Linked DNA regions of Homo sapiens: region 1 is linked to region 2. The links are contacts of gene promoters, found by promoter capture Hi-C in blood cells and fetal thymus (Javierre and others, 2016). All regions are on one chromosome and are shown on one strand. The core of a region is centred on a gene start or on the middle of the fragment in contact, and the rest is flanking DNA. Distances in the headings are between cores, read along the strand shown. Region 1 has its middle 5.4 kb from the start of TCP11L2. Region 2 holds the start of SELPLG (selectin P ligand).

What was found. Contacts are between HindIII fragments. The CHiCAGO score rates a contact against its expected background, and 5 or more counts as called.
Region 1: a contact is called between a fragment that was not itself captured here and the fragment with the promoter of SELPLG in region 2, in 1 of 17 cell types (non-activated CD4 T cells). The highest score is 6.4, in non-activated CD4 T cells.

What each region holds. Positions count from the first base shown.
Region 1 is chr12:106,295,758-106,298,960 of GRCh38, forward strand. It overlaps a transcript of TCP11L2 not described here. Among named protein-coding and RNA genes, the nearest start is that of TCP11L2, 5.4 kb to the right of the region's middle. The HindIII fragment of the contact is 4,525 bases long and covers 1-3,203 here.
Region 2 is chr12:108,632,300-108,635,143 of GRCh38, forward strand. It overlaps SELPLG (selectin P ligand), which reads right to left and starts at 1,595. Exons shown (of 2, transcript NM_003006.4): 1 at 1,441-1,595. LOC105369968 (a long non-coding RNA gene) reads left to right here. Exons shown (of 3, transcript XR_007063449.1): 2 at 2,032-2,844. RefSeq lists an enhancer at 1,067-1,116 and a silencer at 2,357-2,406. The HindIII fragment of the contact is 5,781 bases long and covers 1-1,772 here.

The DNA.
Region 1 (3,203 bases), core at 351-2,850, 2.3 Mb before region 2:
ACTGAGTTTCACTCTGCCACCCAGGCAAAAGTGTAGTGGCGTGATCTTGGCTCACTGCAGCCTCTGCCTCCTGGGTTCAAGTGATTCTCCTGCCTCAGCCTCCCAAATAGCTGGGACTACAGGAGTGCGCCACCACGCCCAGCTAATTTTTTGTATTTTTAATAGAGACGGGGTTTCACCATGCTGACCAGGCTGGTCTTGAACTCCTGACCTCAGTTGATCCGCCCACCTCGGCCTCCCAAAATGCTGGGATTACAGGAATGAGCCACTGCGCCCAGCCTATACTGAGCTTTGTGGGAATTTACTGATAATATACATGCAGATGTACATGTAACATAAACAATGGCATGGCTTGGGATCCCTCTGAGGGAATTGGCCAGAAATGTTTCGTGTGTGCATGTGTGCGGGTGAATATATATCTATGTAAACAGCTTCATATTTTTGTATAAAGCTGCATTCCATTCTTGCTTTCTAGAAGGCACAGCCACCCCAGTATCTGGTCCAGGCACCCTTCTAGAGTAATGGAATGTGATTATAAATACTTTGGGCACTTAGTTGGTACAGAGCTGGTATGCTTGTTGATATGTTGTTATGGAAATTAGATAATTATGCCAATAGGTAATACTTTGCATGTGACACTGCACGTGTATATGTGTGTATTTGCGGAGAGAAGCCATGAAGTGAGTTCTTCTGGTTTCTATTCTTGACCTGCCAACTGAGTGAGTCACTGCTGAGTATCCCTTTAGTCAACATAAACCCTTAGTGCCCTAGTATATGACCTTCCTCTAGAATGCCCAGGAACTCAGGTAAAAGCTACTATTCAGGCATTTGAATGTTCAGAGCTCTCAATTTTTTTGTCTTCAAAATGTACGGCTGGGTGTGGTGGCTGATGCCTGTAATCCCAGCACTTTGGGAGGCCAAGGGGTGGATCACTTGAGGTCAGGAGTTCGAGACCAGCCTAGCCAACATGGTGAAACCCCATCTCTACTAAAAATACAAAATATTAGCCAGGCGTGATGGCACACATCTGTGATTCCAGCTACTCAGGAGGCTAAGGCAAAAGAATCGCCTGAGCTCGGGAGGCAGAGGTTGCAGTGAGCCGAGATCATGCCACTGAACTCCAATCTGGCTGACAGAGTGAGACTCTGTCTCAAAAAAAAGAAACAACAAAAAAAAGGTAGTATAATTATTAAAGTCCCATATAACTTTGAGAAAGGACATTTGTCCAGTTTATCATCAAAGAAAGGGAAGGTTTTAGAGGTCAGAGTTTGGGGCAAAAAACATGTTTAAAATGAAAGCAAACTCCATGCACTTTGGCTATCGAAGAATAGGGCTTGAGGAGAAGAACTTAAAAAGTAAAGATCAATATTCCCCCACCCAGCATTAATAATTTTGACATATCATAGTGAGGGACTTTTTGTAAATCTATTCTTTCATATATTTTACATGAAAAGCTCCATTTGTTGTCATGGCTTTCTTAAATATGAATAAAAAAGAGATGGGAAATTTGCTTATTGTGCAGTATCAATAGCCTATCTTCACTAAGGTATATTTAGGAGGACATACAATAATAAGAATAGTTGCATTGTATGGCAGTGTGAAATAGACTAGTAATATATGAATGACATTCTCATTGTAAAAGAAATAAGCTGCTTGAATGTGTACGGAATAAACCAGGAACTAACTTGCCTAAATAGCCTTCTAAACGGTTGAGATTCTTTTTAGTCCATTTCTATGTATTTCATATACACACAATGCATATGTACTGTCTCTAGTGTAAGCTCTCTCTAGCATAAATCGTGTCACCCCATAATCAGTGTTCTGTAACTCATGTTTTCATGTTGAATCGTGTACCTAAAAAGTCACATTTCTTAATCCTTCCTTTATGTTTTCTGGAGATTGCATCTTATTTTAGTAGCTCTTCCTCATGCCCATTTGACAATTTCATTTGATTTTAAAACTGAGGGCCTGTGTTCATCCATGAACACTTTAGAAAAGCAATCATTTAGAAAATGGTTGATTGCCTGCTGGCCTGGAGATGAGCTAAAGAGAGTGACTGGCTTGGTCAGAGGTCTGAGCCATCACCTGTTTGGCCTCCCATAGGTGTTCCTTTGAGCTTCAACTCTCTTTGGCCCCTCCCACTTCCTGCCCCAAAGTTGTCTTCACTGCTGGTTCTCACTCTTTCTGCTTCCCAGGGGACAACAGTGGTGCCCAGGTAAGAGGAAGGGGCCCAGGGTGGGGTGTAGGGAGCACTAAGAATATTTGTCTTTTTAGTATGTGACAGGGTCAGGGACTGGGCAGTGCCTAAATGTGAAGGTACAGGCAATTGAAATGAGAAATAACTGTTAATTTTTTTACTAATTCAGTTCAGTGGAGTCAAAAGAAAACTGGTTTTGGTGCTTTGGAAAATTGTTCAAGCATCAATTAATAGTCAAAACTGGTCAATTATCTAAATCTACCTTATCTTCCAAATCACAGGATATAGAACAAAAAAAAATTGCCTAAAAGGTGTGGTTAATTTTTTTTAATAGACCTTATTTTTAGAGCTCACAGTAAAATTGAGTAGGAGGTATGCAGTTAATTTTTGAACATTCAGGGCCTAATTCTCTAGTTGGTGTATTAGCCAAATTCATTTTCTTCTTTTTGCTTTCTATTGTATTTTCCCCCTCACTGATTTTTGGCCCTTTCTGTAGCACCTGAAGATGGACAGGGGAGAGAAAAGAAGTGGGATTCCTTTGAAAAACATTTTTTTTAATTTAATTTTTAGTTTAAAATTTTTTTTGAGACAAAGTCTCGCTCTGTTGCCCAGGCTGGAGTGCAGTGGTGAAATCTCAGCTCACTGCAACCTCCGCCCCCCAGGTTCAAGCAATTCTCCTGCCTCAGCCTCCCAAGTAGCTGGGATTACAGGTGTGTGCCACCACGCCCAACTAATTTTTTGTATTTTTAGTAGAGATGAGGTTTTGCCATGTTGGTCAGGCTGGTCTCAAACTCCTGACCTCAAGTTATCCACCTGCCTCGGCCTCCCAAACTGCTGGGATTATAGGTGTGAACCACCATGCCCGGCCATTTTTTTTTGTGAGACCAGGTTTCACTCTTGTTGCCCAGGCCGGAGTGCAATGGTGCAATCCTGGCTCACTGCAACCTCTGCCTCCTGGGTTCAAGTGATTCTCCTGCCTCAGCCTCCCAAGTATTTGGGATTAGAG
Region 2 (2,844 bases), core at 345-2,844:
AGTCAGAGATGGAAAAAAAAGGAAAACAGAAGAAAGAGGAAAGAGGAAGAGAATTCCAGGCAACAGAAGCCCAGATATCGACAATATGGGGTGTGTGTGTGTGTGTGTGTGTGTGTGTGTGTGTGTGTGAATGTGTGTACAGCAGGGCACAACTGGCCCCCACCATTTCCTTTTAGTGTCCTGAAAGTATCTCAAATACAAACTAATAAGAGTATTCTAATTTTTTTTTTTTTGAGACAGGGTCTCACTCTGCCACCCGGGTTGGAGTGCAGTGGCACAATCTCGGCTTACTGCGACCTCCCCCTCCCAGGTTCAAGTGATCCTCCCACCTCAGCCTCCCAAGTAGCTGAGACCACAGGCATACACCACTACACCTAGCTAAGTTTTTGTATTTTTGGTAGAGACGAGGTTTCACCATGTTGCCCAGGTTGGTCTAGAACTCCTGAGCTCAGGCCAACCACCTGCCTCGGCCTCCCAAAGGGCTGGGATTACAGGTGTAAGCCACTGCACCCAGCCAAATATTCTAATTATTATTATTATTATTGTTTTCCCTTTTGCTAACAATAGTATCTTAATTCTAATATTTTAATAGTTTGCCACAGACAAGTGTCATTTCCTCAGTCTTATAAAAAGTGGGAAGAATGCATCTTTCTCTGAAAAGAACTTTTTTATGCGTCCATAACATGCAGCTTCAAGAGAAATCCTGCACTCCCCCTACTTTCTGGAGTCTTCCAGACCTAATCTCAGCTCTGCCCCTAAACAAATCCCTTCACCTCTCCCGACCTCAGTTTCCCATCCAGGAAAGGAGAGGATAAGATCATTTCTAGGGAAACACTCATGGTTTCTCTGATTTTCAAAATCAGAATGCCGCCAAGCCAGACGCTGCAGGCAAACTGGCCAGGGAGGGAAGTAAGTTAATGGGAGGCTGGGGCTGGTGGGTCACACCTGTAATTTCAGCACTTTGGGAGGCCAACGCAAGAGGCTTGAGGCCAGGAGTTTGAGACCAGCCTCGGCATCAAAGTGAGACCCCATCTCTAGGAAAGGTAAAAATATTAGCTGCATGCGGCGATGTGCGCCTGTAGTCCCAGCTACTCAGGAGGCTGAGGTGGGAGGATCACTTGTGCCCAGGAGTTTAAGGCTGCAGTGAGCCATGATTGTGCCACTGCACTCCAGCCTGGGTGACAGAGTAAGACCCTGTCTCAAAAAAAGAAGGAAAAAAAAAGTTGGCAGGAGCAGGATTCAGAAGAGTCACAGAATAAGGCCACAGACTCCAGGAAGACTTTAGTCTTGAGTCGGAGGAGCCTCAGTTTGCCCTCCCCAGGTGCTGCAGCTCAAGAAGGGCCTGGCGGTCCTACCCGGGCCTGCCAGCAGCTATAAGGCAGGCCCTTGGCCCATGGGGACCTCCAGCCACTCCCTGTGGTTTTGCAAGCCAGCACTTACCACCGTGCTCAGCAGAGCATGGGACAGCTGCCTCGTGGGCCCAGAAGAAGTGGCTTCTCTGCTTTAGTGACAAGGTCCCAGCCCACGCTGCCAGGCACTGCTGTGGCACCCCCTGCGGCAGTCCCGGATCCGAGCAACCCCCAATGGCTGTGTGTGGAAGGAGGAAGCGAGAATGTGGTTACTTAGGCAGGGCCATGTGACAGCCCACACCCCATTGTTTGTGACAGCTTTGGTGACAACATTGATAAAGACAGGGTGGTAGTGGGGCACCTCCTAGGTCTGACACTGTTCTTGGGTTCCCATAACTGTGAAAACACTGAGAACCAAGTAGAAGCTTTCTGGGGAGAAGTTCTTCGGTTTTGGGTGGGGCCCAAACTGAGAAAGGCCACAGCATTACTTCAGCAGCAATGGACAGTCGGGGCCAGAGGGAGCCCCCTGAAGGACAGGAGTGACCAGAGAAAAAGGAGAATGGTCTCGCTTCTTGCCCAAGATTGGTGGGGCGTGGGGAGGGGTGGGAGGTGGTCAGGGAGCAAAAAACACAAAATATGAACCTTCAAAGGGTTTGCAAATATGGTGTATTTCTTCTCGCAGGACTCAAAACACTCTCTGTAGATGCACAGCACAGGCCCTTTCAGCTGCAACCAAGAGCCTCTCTAGGGAGCTGGACTACAGATACCACAAGGGCAAGTCCTGCTTATCTTATTTCTTCATCCTAAATTTGTTCATTTGACCAACTCTGGCACTCCAGACTGCATGCCCTGAGGTCTAAAGGCCAGCAATTCTGGGCTGTGGCCCTCTGGTAGCCCTCCATCCAATGGGGAGGCCAGCGAGTAAACAATTCGGTGGAACATCATGCCACAATGACACAGCGCAGTGAGTGCCATCCTGCGGTGAGCAAGGGAGGGGCCTCTCCTTCCATCCTGGGTGGGGGAGGGAGGTTAACAGGAGGAGCTTCCAAGAAGTGGCACTTGAGATGACAAGCCAGGTGGGCATCCCAGGCAGAGAGCACAGCAGAGGCAAAGGCTGGGAGGCCTAAGAATACCCAGACACTTCCAGAAGGGAGGGAATAGGGGGGTCTCCCAGGATCTGCCCTGCGGCTTTGCACCAGGCAAGGGCTCAGGACATGCACAGAAAGATACTCATATCTTGCCTTGCACAAAGTTGTTTTTTTTTTTTTTTTTTGAGATGGAGTTTCACTCTTTTTGCCCAGGCTGGAGTGCAATGGCACAATCTCGGCTCACCGCAACCTCCGCCTCCCGGGTTCAAGCTATTCTTCTGCCTCAGCCTCCCGAGTATCTGGGATTACAGGCATGTGCCACCACCCCGGCTAATTTTGTATTTATAGTAGAGATGGGGTTTCTCCACGTTTGTCAGGCTGGTTGGTCTTGAACTCTCGACCTCAGG